Linked DNA regions of Homo sapiens: all the other regions are linked to region 2. Evidence: promoter capture Hi-C in 16 types of primary human blood cells and fetal thymus (Javierre and others, 2016). All regions are on one chromosome and are shown on one strand. The core of a region is centred on a gene start or on the middle of the fragment in contact, and the rest is flanking DNA. Distances in the headings are between cores, read along the strand shown. Region 1 overlaps USF3 (upstream transcription factor family member 3). Region 2 holds the start of ATG3 (autophagy related 3). Region 3 overlaps ATP6V1A (ATPase H+ transporting V1 subunit A). Region 4 holds the start of CCDC191 (coiled-coil domain containing 191).

Region 1 (2,950 bases), core at 160-2,659, 1.1 Mb after region 2:
AATTATGCCATCTACCCTTCCCTCCTCTTCAATTCAGACAGGTTTATCCCTGTGCGCCTTATCAGCTACTTCACTTTATGCTAAATTCATGCTATTTTCCCACTGAAATGACCTTTCCACTTTGCTCTGTTTATCCAAATCCTACCAACCCTTTAAAGTCCGGTGCAAGTCTATCCTCCTATATAAAATCTTCCCTAATATTTCTAGCAAAACTAAACCCTCTACCTATACTCTGGACTCTATCACTCTCGCTACTTAGTAAACTTCTTACATAATGTCCCTTTTCTCTCATATATTATTAATCCCTCCTTCTCTCTTAGTGCCTTTCCATTAAAAATATCCTTATTCAGGGCCAGGCACGGTGGCTCACACCTGTAATCCCAGCACTTTGAGAGGCCAAGGGAGGTGGCTCACTTGAGCTCAGGAGTTTGAGACCAGCCTGGGAAACAAGGCAAAACCCCATCTCTACCAAAAATACAAAAAATTAGCCAGGTGTGGTGCTGCAAACCTGTAATCCCAGCTAATCAGGAGCCTGAGGTAGGAGGATGGCTTGAGCCCAGGAGGCGAAGGTTCCAGTGAGCCAAGATCGCACCACTGCACTCCAGCCTGGGAGACAGAGTGAGATCCCATCTCAACAAAAATAAAAATAAATCCTTATTCAACTTTTTCCATGTAAAAACCTAAACTGATTTTTCTCCTGACCTTGCAACTCCCCACAGGTGTCCCCATTCTTCCTCCCAACCACCAGTCTTCTTGAACAAGTTGTTTACACTTACTACCCCCTCTTCCTCACTTCTTATTCACTCTTCAACCAGCTGTTACCTGACTTTTATTCCTAAAACTGCTTAAACCAAGCTCAACAAAAGACTTCCACACTGCCAAATCCGATGAACTTTGTAATAAATCTGTTGTTTTGGCCTTCTGACAATAATATCCTGCCTTTCCTTCGGAGATCTTCTCTGTCCCATTCCTGAAATCTGATAGGACCATCAAACACAGGCTCACCTCTGGGGTGGGCATGGGGCTAACTAATAAGACTCCCTGCACAAGGAGAATATCTTGCTGAGGCTGAGTTAGCCCCATGGATCCTTATGATCCTGGGAGCTTCTGTTTTCCTGGCCTTCCCAAGCCTTCATTATTCTATCTCCCTTTCTTTCTGTGAGTTTATCCAGTATCCATTTGCTGCTTAGCCAAATTCAATCTCTATTGTTTATAACCAAAGAGAAACTGGTCCCTCAAATGACACAGAGGTAGACAGCGGTGACACTACAATTTCTTCTCCTTATCTCCTTCTCTTTGGTTTCTGCTGTTTAAGGAATTCCTGAGAACTCTTCATTATCCTCTTTAAAGATTTCTCTGACCCCTAGAGCAGTGGTCCCAACCTTTTTGGCACCAGGGACTGGTTTCGTGGAAGACAATTTTTCCATGGACAGGGAGTGGAGCAGATGGTTTCAGGATGAAACTGTTCCATCTATCTCAGGCATTAGATGATCATAAGGAACATGCAACCTAGATCCCTTGCATGTGTGGTTCAGAATAGGGCTCGCACTCCTATGATAATCTAATGCTGCCGCTGATCTGACAGGAGGGTAGCTCATCTCCTGCTGTGCGGCCTGATTCCTAACAGGCCACTTGGGGACCCCTGCCTTAGAGGTTAGACTAAATACCCTTCTTCATACTCCCAAACATCCTAATACTCCACAATGTCTTAACATGAAATACAATCTATATACTTACTAGTTTTCACCACCAGACTATAATAAATGGTAGAAACTTATTACTCCATTACTGAGTGCTAATTATTGAGAATACAAATATGTAAAAAATTCATATTATTCATATTACTGAGAATACAAACATGAAAAAAAATTTCATGTTTGTATCCTCAACAATTAGCACTCAGTAACTGAGTAATAAATGTCTGCTGAAAGAATATCTGGTCTTTCCTTTTTTTTGTATTAATCATTATGTCATAGATTTTACATACTTATGTTTAATTTAGCATCTAATGAATACTCCATTGAGTTCCTTAAACAATCCTAATAAGTCTAAAACGTTCTTATGAGCTGAGTCCACCATTTACTATTTCTGTATTCTCTTCAGTACCTAACAGTGTTGGGCACATGGTAAATAATAAATACTTGGTGAACTGAATTAAAAACACAGTATTAGCACACTAATAGAAACAACTTATCATGTCCTACTGATCTAATTAAAAGATCTGGCCTTCTGAAGTAGTGCAATTGTCCCCATATGGAAATTTTAATGAGAAAAAGAAAAATTATCCAATTGGACAGTTAACCACGTTTCTTTTAGCAAGAGTTCCACAAATATTTTATGAATAATAAATGTATACCTTTACAGCACAGAGTAAAAGACTCAGGACACATATATGCCTGTGCATACTGGAAGGAAGATTACATATTTAAGGGGTCTGTCACAACTACAATCACTTAGATTCTACTAACCTTTAACAAATCTATAATAGGAGTATAGGACATAAAAATATTTAATAGCAAAATCAATTAATGCCAAATCAACTTACGTTCAAGATGTATATGGCTATCTTTTTATAATATATAACATGGCAGTCATTTACTCATTTAAGAACATTTATTAACTGCCTAGTAATCACAAATACAATGTTAGGTCCCAAAAATACAAAGATAAAAAGAACACATTTCCTATGTTAGTGGAGTTCTATTTCTGCCATGTTGCAATGGTATTCAAGAATATGTGAATGGTACCCCCTGGAGTTGCTCAACATGGAGGCCCTGGTTAGCAGTATGGTGGGGAAGGCATATAAACACATACTTATGGCAGTGTGCTAAGTGCTAGCACAGAAACAAGTACAACTGTTACGGGGCCACGGAAGATAAATCATCTACTAATGAAATTAAGAAAAGATATGAAAAAAACGGATGTCTATACAGGAATTCAATGCTAGTTA
Region 2 (2,810 bases), core at 73-2,572:
TTCAGAAAGCAAAAATGAAGTTACAACAAAACACTCCAAAAGAGTTATAAAAGAAAAGCTTGAAGGCAGTTGTAGAAATTTACCTTTAAAAAAAAAATCAGTCACTACTGTAACAGCTAATGTGTCACAATTTTTTACTTTAAAAATGCTGTACTGTTGCCAATATATTTTTAAAAATTATACAGCCAGGAAGGTCAAACCGTGCCTTGTTATCACTAATAACCAGCTACGGCTATCTGAAAAGCTTGGGAAAAAGGTTTTGCTCGTTAGATGGGTTCAAGGTTACTGAATGAGATAATGTTGCCAATTTCACCTCCTTCCTCTGAAATCTAAACGAGTTGGGATCGCAGTCACAACTTCCCCACTACAGCGGACTTTCATGAAACTTAAAGGAAAAGTGACCTCACCTCAGGTCTCTTTTGACCTCTGTGTGTCAAACACTAAATTCATTTTTTAAAGAGAAGCAAAATCCTTGCTTAAAAAGGCTAAAAGACTTCCAGTGTTTGGATTTAACGTTCTTCAATCTACTCAGCCTCCGAACACCCTTCCAACCCGACGTACCCGACCGCGCAGAGTTATGACGGGAGAAGGCAGGAACACGCAGAGCGTCGCTCCAAGTTTACCCCTGAGGAGTCAGAAAGCCCTAACGAACAGCCGGTTAAGACTACGGGTGGGGGCTGCACACTTCCCTGTGTCTCGAGCCCTACTGCCTTCCTACACCTTGCCCCGCCGGAGAAAGCGGGGACTCCTGCGGCGCCTGGTCCCTGAAAAGTCGAGCATGTGCCTGACAGCTCCCGGCAACCCTGGCCTGGCTTACCTTGAGGACCGGGGTCAGGTACTCAGCCACTTCCAGTGCCTTTCCCTTCACAGTATTAATCACATTCTGCATCCTGGGGCCGGAGTAGCGGCCGGCCCCGCGACGGGATGGAAAGTGCAGCCGTGTCAGGGGCCAGGGAGTCAGAAAATGTCCTCGCTGCCACCGACTCGCATCAGCACCCGGCTGGCAGCACCCGAGGGGACGGGACGCGACGCGACGGGACGGGCGGGACGAGGGGGCGGGGCGGCAGGCACAGCGCGCGAAGACGGGGTGCGCGATCCTCGCACCCCAGGCAGCCCGCGACGGACCGGACCCAGCTGTCACCCAGCCGCGAGGGAGGGCAGCGGGGCCGAAGGGAGACCTGAGGTGAGAAGCGGACGCACACGCACCCCTCGCCCTCTGCGAGCTGTCTGTCCTCGCTTTGCTTCACTCGCGCCCCTTCCGGCTTCCCTTCCTTCTCACTCTCTTGCCGTAGCTGCGCCGCCACCGGGGCCTCACGTGACACTAGACTCTCCCGGCACGTGACGTGAGAAAGGGGCCGGGCTGGGGCGGGATAAGCCGCTTCTCCCCTCCTTCCGGAAGCGTAACACTGAACGTGCCTGCGCAATGGGTGTCGGGTCCGCTTTTTCCCAATCCGGACGTAATCGTGGTTTTTGTTCTGCAATAGGCGGCTTAGAGGGAGGGGCTTTTTCGCCTATACCTACTGTAGCTTCTCCACGTATGGACCCTAAAGGCTACTGCTGCTACTACGGGGCTAGACAGTTACTGTCTCAGCTCTAGGATGTGCGTTCTTCCACTAGAAGCTCTTCTGAGGGAGGTAACCGCGCCCCGCGGGCAAGGAATTGCGCCTGCGTCTGAGGGGAGGGTGCGCCAGTGAAGAGCCCTACTGCGCATGTGTGACTAGAAGGGTAGTCCCTGACTGTGAAGGGAAATCTGGCCCCCTCCTGTCGGGGAGGCGTCCTGTAGGCGTGCGCCCAATGGGGCTGTCAGTATTGGCATTTCTCCCCACTCCCCGCAGGCTCTATGCGCTATTCCTACAGTACGCTGGGAGGCTTTGGGCAAGTTACTTACCCAACCTGGGGTTTAGTGTCCTCAGCCTATCAAAAGAGGGCCTTAGATTCATTGATTTCTACGATCTCCTCCATTTCAAACACTAACTAGTTCAGTAAAACTTTACAGCAGTGTTTCAGATATTTCCATTTTGGTCGTTATTGTAATGAAGTCTGTCCTAATAAGCTTTTTCCTCCGAGGGAAAAGAGGAGGAAAATACAATTCTGAAAGCCTTATCTTACAGCAAAATTATTTACTAATAAGAGTAAAAGCGAGGCCGGGCGCGGTGGCTCACGCCTGTAATCCCAGCACTTTGGGAGGCAGAGGCGGGCGGATCACAGTCAGGAGTTCGAGACCAGCCTGGCCAACATAGTGAAACCCCGTCTCTACTAAAAATACAAAAATTAGCCGGGCGTGGTGGCGGGCGCTTGTAGTCCCAGCTATTCTGGAGGCTGACGCAGGAGAATCGCTTGAGTCCGGTAGGTAGGGGTTGCAGTGAGCCAAGACCGCGCCGTTGCACTCCAGCCTGGGTGACAGAGCGAGACTCCGTCTCAAAATACATAAATAAATAAAATTTAAAAATAAAATTCAAAATTGCTTTGAAGAATTCTTTTCTGCTGTTGCAAAGTGTCATTTGCTCACCTGCTACCTTTGTCAGCAGGTCTAATCTGGTTCTACGTTTTCTGTCTCCAGAGTACTCCCTCTTATCAGATTTTCACTTTCCTTTTGTCATAGTTTCTTTATGCCTCAACTTTCTTGGTGCTGATATAGTCATAGCCAAAATTTTTTAAAAATTCCTTTTTTGTCCTCACGATCAATGGTATTTGCGTTTAGGGTCTGCCAACAAGGTCGTTCATGAAAGTGTTTTTCTCTTTAAGGTAATTAAAAAACAGTGGAATGGAAAAACAGTGCTGTAGTCATCCTGTAATATGCTCCTTGTCAA
Region 3 (3,160 bases), core at 129-2,628, 1.2 Mb after region 2:
TTGGAAAGAGGAAATAAGCAGAAAAGGAAAGAGACAGAATATCCATAGTAACATATTTATATAAAACTACATGTTTGTACATGTCTGTGTATATGATGGATTATGGGAAACAATGGGCACTAAGATGATTTACTTTCTTCCTTACACTTTACATTATATGTTTTTATTTTTACAGTGGACATGAAGTGTTTCTGTAATTAGGAAAAACAGGCTGGGCATGGTGGCTCACGCCTGTAATCCCAGCACTTTGGGAGGCTGAGGCAGGTAGATCGCTTGAGCCCGGTGTTGGAGACCATCCTGGGCAACATGGCAAGACCCCCCTCTACCAGTAAAAACTAAAAATTAAAAAAATTATTTGGGCACGATGGCATGCACCTGTAGTCCCAGCTACTCAAGAGGCTGAGGTGGGAGGATCACTTGATCCCGGGGCATTCAAGGTTTCAGTGAACTGCGAATGTGCCACTGCACTCCAGCCTGGGCGTCAGAGCGACACCCTGTCTCAAAAGTAAGAAAAAAAAAAAGAAAAGAAAAATGTACCAAAAAATGATAGGGACTACTAGATAGGATTACAAATTTGGCATGTTATTTTTGGTATGGATAGTCAGTGCTATCGACACGCTTTCTGCCTTAGAGTGTAGAGCACATTGCACAAGTGTGGGATCTGTCACCTGACTTAATCATATGACAGAATCATAAGAAAAGTCCCTATTTGGGTTTTGGCATATAAACTGGATTACAAGATTAACTTGCCTTAAGAAAACTTTAAACAAGAACTTCTTTAAAGAAGCAAAATAAAAAGTACTTATAATTGTTTAATACTTGATTTCTGTCCTTTTAAAAGTATCTCCGTAGAATACATCATTCAAAGCCTAGACAGAAAATAGCAGATGCTTTAGAGTTGGATTTGTTGCATACTTAAAGTAGCTGTATTTTTTTCTCACATTGGTATTACTTCCCCTTTTCATTACCAGTTTTATTAATTGCATATATGTGCTTTAATGTAAGCTGTCCAAAGTTTTTTTTACAAGAGTTGGGATATATGTAAATAAAAATAATTTTAGAGTAGTATTAATATAACAAAGAGATGAAGGAAACCAGACTGTGTGAGTCAAATCCTGGCTCTGCTTCCTAGTGGTGTGACTTTGGAGGAGTTACTTGTGTCTTTTTGCATTGCATTTTTCTCAACTTTAAAATAAGGATAATAAGAGTATTTAACTTCATTGGATGTTGTGAATAATAGAAGCGATTGGAATAATAACTAGCACATAAGGACCGTATATATATTTGCCAGCTGGGTGCAGTGGCTCACACCTGTAATCCCAGCACTTTGGGAGGCCGATGCAGGCGGATTGCTTGAGCCCAGGAATTGAAGGGCAACATGGCAAAACCATGTCTGTACAAAAAAAAAAAAAAAAAAAATTAGCCAGGCGTGGTGGCACACACATCTAGTTCCCGCTATTCGGGAGGCTGAGGTGGGAGGATTGCTTGAGCCTGGGAGGCAGAGGTTGCAGTGAGCTGAGATCGTGCCACTGCAGACCCTGGGTGACAGAGCCAGACCCTGTCTCAGAAAAATATATATGTAATAATAATATGTGCTATTATTTGCTCAGTCAATTAGGTGCAATATATAATAGTTTTACTTGGCTCAGTTGTTTTAACATTCATTTACTCATCCAACAATATTTTTAATTCAGTTGAATGGGTAATACATGTACAAATATGGTAAAATTTATATATTCATACAAGTGTGTTTTCTCTCCCCTCATCCTTATTCTTTTCTTCCCCCATATATTTATCCACAAATGGTAGCACCTCTTCGTATTATTCTGGACCTTACATTTTTCGCTTGAGTATTACGTTGGAGATCTTTTCACATTGATACAGTTAAAACTGCCTCATTCTTTTTAATGATAGTTTAGTATTCAATTGTATTAATATACCCTCATCATCATATGTAACATTTATTGAGAGCTTACTCCTGATCCAAATGCTTTCTTAATACTTTAGTTTTATTAACTCATGGAAGCCTCATAACAACCTATGAGATAGGCACTATTTTTCTATATTTAACAAATGAGGAAAACTAGGCACGGGATGATTAAATGTCCAACAGTCACACAGTTTATAAGTGGTAGGGCTCAGGATTAGAGCCCAGGGAGTCACTTTCCAGAGATTGCTGCCATAATACCGCTAAACATGTAGCCTGTCATAGTATTACAAGGTATTTAACCAGCCTCCATATTAATGGACATTCCAATCTTTTGCTTAAGAAACAGTGCTATAGTTAATATTTTGTTAATAGAACATTTTGTACATCTACAATAAATTCCTAGAAATGGACTAGCCATGTCAAAGGTAAGTACAATTTGAATTTTGGTGGGCACTGCCAAATTGCTCTCCAATTTAGGGATGTTCAGAAGTTCACCTTTGTCCTTAGTAATTTGCCAAAATCTGCCATTTAGCTTGGGTCTTTGGAAGGTGTGCTTTTAACATTTCTAGCATCCCTGAATTGTGTGTGATCTACCATCATGTAATAGCTTAAGTTACTATCATATGGAATTAATGTAACAATGTCAGTATGAGAGGTGTGACCTTTGGACTTACTACTTTCAAATAACAGTAAGTATTTTAGATATAACTTGAAATACTCCTTAATGTGATTTATACATTGAAATTCTATCAATCGAAGTTTGAATAGATATTGTTGAAAAAGTAAAATGCTGTAATTGTTAATAATTGTGAAGTTGCTGATTTTATGTACCAAAGCAATTATGTAAGAGTGTTCAAATAGTTAAATAGTGAATCAGATTGCATTTGAACATTAAGAGTGTGGTAGCTAGCTAAATAGAGGAATAGCTGGGTCCTTTCTTGTGAAAAGTGAGTTTTTGATAATCCGTGAGTCCTAGTCGTAGGTAATGCAAAATGAGGTAGCGAGGAGCTTTATTTAGATGAGTTATAAAATCCACAAATTATTTTGAATATAACACACTTGGTTTCAGTGCCCAATATTTCACTTGTTCAAGAAAGGAAAAAGTATCTCTATGAATCTAAGAAGCAGATTGACTGACACCAAACTCTTCAATGTGATCCAAAATAGACACTTAAAATACAGAATCTTCTCAGGTCCCAACGTAGTATACCTGCAGTGCCTGAATATGGC
Region 4 (3,200 bases), core at 687-3,186, 1.5 Mb after region 2:
TTGCACCACTGCGCTCCAGCCTGGGCGACAGAGCGAGACTCTGTCTCAAAAACAAACAAACAAACAAACAACAACAACAACAAAAACTGGGGAATGGGGCGAGGGTTAATCAATCTGACTTTTACTGTTTTACAAAGCAGAAAATATAAATTTCCACCCAGATCAGTCAGGTATTAATCTGAAATTAGAAGTAAAACTATCAGGACATTTCCTTTCTTCAACCTCTGAAACTCCCAGAAGCTTGCAGAATTCCCTCTAATAGTCACTTAACAAATAGAGTTATCTTCTTCACTAAAAATTCAGGTGTGTTTTTAAAATAAGGGGATATCCTGATGATTTGTCATTGGAGCACTAAATCTCTTTTGGTTTGGCGTTCCCAGTTCATGAATTGCTTCTTACTCAAATATACTCTTTAAAATAATAATAATAATAATAATAATAAAATAAGGGGATATCTAAACTAGCATACTGACACATGGAGGTGGGAAAAATATAATACTCTTTCACTTACCTAACACTTTACCTTCAAAGCATCTTACTGATAACTAACGCAGCTGTACTGCTTAATAATTTTGTCACTGCAACAAAGAAAGAGCTGATCTAATTAAAATACAACTGAACTTGAAGAAGCCCTATGTTTTTACCTTTTTTTCTCTAGGCAGTAATAATGAGCACTAGCAGCAAAAATCCTTCCTTTTGGAGTCCTAAGAAATTATTCTAAATTTTTACCTTTCATCATCAAGTCCATATCTATATCCTATCTTGGATCCAATACATTATGCAACTGATGTATTGAAATAGCAGCAGCCTCAGTTTCCAAGTCTCCCTGATGCTTCAGTCTGTGCCCTCTAGTATCTAGGGCAACATATTTGTCATGTGGAATATGTCCAATGCATTTAGCTGGTAAATTTAGAATAAATCGCAAGAACAATCGCCTGGGGCCCTCAAAAAGGCCACATACATCTACAGAATATTATTTAGGAAAGTATAACTTAAGGGTGAAAACAGCTGGTGAAACTGCTCTGTAGCTGAAAGCTGAGAAGCTTCTCCATTTTAGTACTCTCATTTAGATTTTAAGCATCTTTTTGGGGACTGTTAAAAAGGTAGTCTGTGGAAAGCACACGGTGCAACTGTGACTTTGCACATGTCACATATGTTTCAAGTTTAAAATGGGGTTATTATTTTTTTCTTATCTTCAGGTGCTAATGCATCCAAATGGGTGATAGATACGGAGAGAATCTATTTTTTGAAAGTTGGTTGAATTTAGAAATTACTATGTGAATCAAGTATTAATGTATTCAATATCCATTTGCACTCCTGAGTTTATTTAGATACTTTACGTAAAAGTGAAGGGGCAGGAATATAGGCAGGGTATTTAATGTGAAGCTCTCTCCCGTTAATAAAGATCAATTACCCCAAGATTTGCAAAAAAAAAAAAAGAGAGAGAAAAAGAAAGAAATGTGCGAGAAGTTTCCTAAAATTTAAGGTAGGGGGAACGGAGTTTGCAAACTCCTTTCACCCCGATGGGCATTAGCAGACACCTCCGGTTTTAGAAAAGCGTTACAAACAGTTCTTCCACGATGCTGCCCACCAAAGCCGTAATGTGCCCAGACCCCAGAGCTCCTAGAGCATTTCACTCAGGGTAATGCTGGCTTTGGGGCGGTCAAGGCAGGGGCGTGTCAGCTCAGGATGAAGAGGCAGGAAGCACAGACGGGCCGCGACTGGCTTCCTGACTGCGCCGCGCCTTGGGAAAGTCCCCGCCCTCCAAAGCTCTCGATTGGGATCACCTTGGGACTCGGCTTCCTTGTGAACCGTTTCCAGCGATTCAGCCCCATCCTTTTCTTTGAGAAGGACCTTCCCTGAGGCGCCAGGAGCATTTTCCAAGTTCGAGCCCGAACCTCGGCCAAAGCTGCAGCAACCGCCCTTCTGCCCGGGCTGCCTCCGGGTCACGCTGGGAATTGTAGTTCCTCCGCCCGCAAGGAAAGCAGGCATAGGACACCGTCGAACCACCACTCCCACGAGGCTCTGCGCAGGCCGCTCGCGTTGGCTCAGTTACCATAGCAACGGCAGAGGTCCCTCGCTCTTGCCGTCATCAAGGCTCGCTTGAATGTCGGCTTTGCTTTTTTTCTGGCGCCCAGTGATGACGCAGTACTCCCTGATTGGCTCTGCACTGGAGGCAGTGATTTTGGGGCAGAGAATTTTGCAACACGTGGTAGTGAACTGTGAGGAGTTTGAGGGGTCTGAAGACTGAAAGAGTCGAATGGTTTGTTGGCAGGTAAGTGCCCCTTTGCCCTGCTGGTGTGGGAGCTGCTAGAGATGGATGAGTCACGTCGCGTCCAGACGCTTCCTGGTTGTGTTGCAGTAACGGTGATTGTACTCCCGCCATGTCTCCTCTGCTTCCCTTTTCAGGGTGTCCTGGTGGATTGGTTTCTGTAAGTTCAGATTCTCATAAATCGTGTGAGCGTCGCCGACACCTCTGAGATAAAAGGGCCCCTTTCGACTAGCCTCTGCTGAAAGGTAGAGTTTTCAGGAAGTTTTTATTCCGAACTGCCCATGGGAGGGTGGGACCGTCTTCAATCTCTGAGCCAGGTGCCTAGGGAGGTCTGGGGCCATGGAGATGGCCCATGGAGCAAAGATAAATCCAGGCTTATTGGCTTAGCCGAGGTGTTTCCAGAGACAGCCCATTTAGGGGTGATAAATGGGCTTATAAAGCAGAGTAAAGATTTAGAACAGGAGTTTTGAATTCAACTACTTTGTGGCTATATGACCCTAGGCAACTTGTTTAATAACTCAGAGACCCTGTTTTCTCATGCAAAATGGGGACGATAATACCTGAATCACTGGAGTGTTGTAATGATTAAAAATAAATGTATGTGAAGCATTCTGCCAGGAAATGTAAACTAAAGTTGATTTGAAATTGGTGAAAATGAAGTTAGGGAAGCTATGCCCTCGGACTGTTGCAGCGATCCTAGGACCAGCTCTGTAACTGGTCTGTCTGAAAGGCGGTTGAATAAATTGTGCTCATACAAACTATGCAGTACCACGAAGTAGTTTTTTTCAAAAGGGTAAGTTAGCTTTATGTCTCTTCTTCAGGAAAGACGTCTAATGTTTATTCTTGAGAGAAAAGCAAATTGCAGAGAAGTGCATATATTATAGTATAATATGTTTCCATTTTTGTAAAAGCAAACCCTGACCAAAAC

What was found. The method cuts DNA at HindIII sites, captures the fragments that hold promoters and counts their contacts. A CHiCAGO score of 5 or more calls a contact.
Region 1: a fragment that was not itself captured here is called in contact with the fragment with the promoter of ATG3 in region 2 in 1 of 17 cell types (neutrophils); the score reaches 6.0 in neutrophils.
Region 3: a fragment that was not itself captured here is called in contact with the fragment with the promoter of ATG3 in region 2 in 1 of 17 cell types (erythroblasts); the score reaches 5.6 in erythroblasts.
Region 4: the fragment with the promoter of CCDC191 here is called in contact with the fragment with the promoter of ATG3 in region 2 in 1 of 17 cell types (fetal thymus); the score reaches 5.2 in fetal thymus.

What each region holds. Positions count from the first base shown.
Region 1 is chr3:113,690,556-113,693,505 of GRCh38, forward strand. All of the region lies in intron 1 of USF3 (upstream transcription factor family member 3), which reads right to left. Among named protein-coding and RNA genes, the nearest start is that of USF3, 4.6 kb to the right of the region's middle. The HindIII fragment of the contact is 3,967 bases long and covers 1-2,950 here.
Region 2 is chr3:112,560,640-112,563,449 of GRCh38, forward strand. It overlaps ATG3 (autophagy related 3), which reads right to left and starts at 1,323. Exons shown (of 12, transcript NM_022488.5): 1 at 818-1,323. The coding sequence starts at 889. It overlaps SLC35A5 (solute carrier family 35 member A5), which reads left to right and starts at 1,406. Exons shown (of 7, transcript NM_017945.5): 1 at 1,406-1,634; 2 at 2,746-2,810. The coding sequence starts at 2,765. RefSeq lists enhancers at 85-894, 895-1,704. The HindIII fragment of the contact is 1,809 bases long and covers 243-2,051 here.
Region 3 is chr3:113,754,033-113,757,192 of GRCh38, forward strand. All of the region lies in intron 1 of ATP6V1A (ATPase H+ transporting V1 subunit A), which reads left to right. Among named protein-coding and RNA genes, the nearest start is that of ATP6V1A, 8.6 kb to the left of the region's middle. The HindIII fragment of the contact is 6,510 bases long and covers 1-3,160 here.
Region 4 is chr3:114,054,590-114,057,789 of GRCh38, forward strand. CCDC191 (coiled-coil domain containing 191) reads right to left here and starts at 1,937. Exons shown (of 17, transcript NM_020817.2): 1 at 1,788-1,937. The coding sequence starts at 1,877. It overlaps QTRT2 (queuine tRNA-ribosyltransferase accessory subunit 2), which reads left to right and starts at 2,148. Exons shown (of 10, transcript NM_024638.4): 1 at 2,148-2,275; 2 at 2,410-2,517. RefSeq lists an enhancer at 1,679-2,088. The HindIII fragment of the contact is 7,070 bases long and covers 1,042-3,200 here.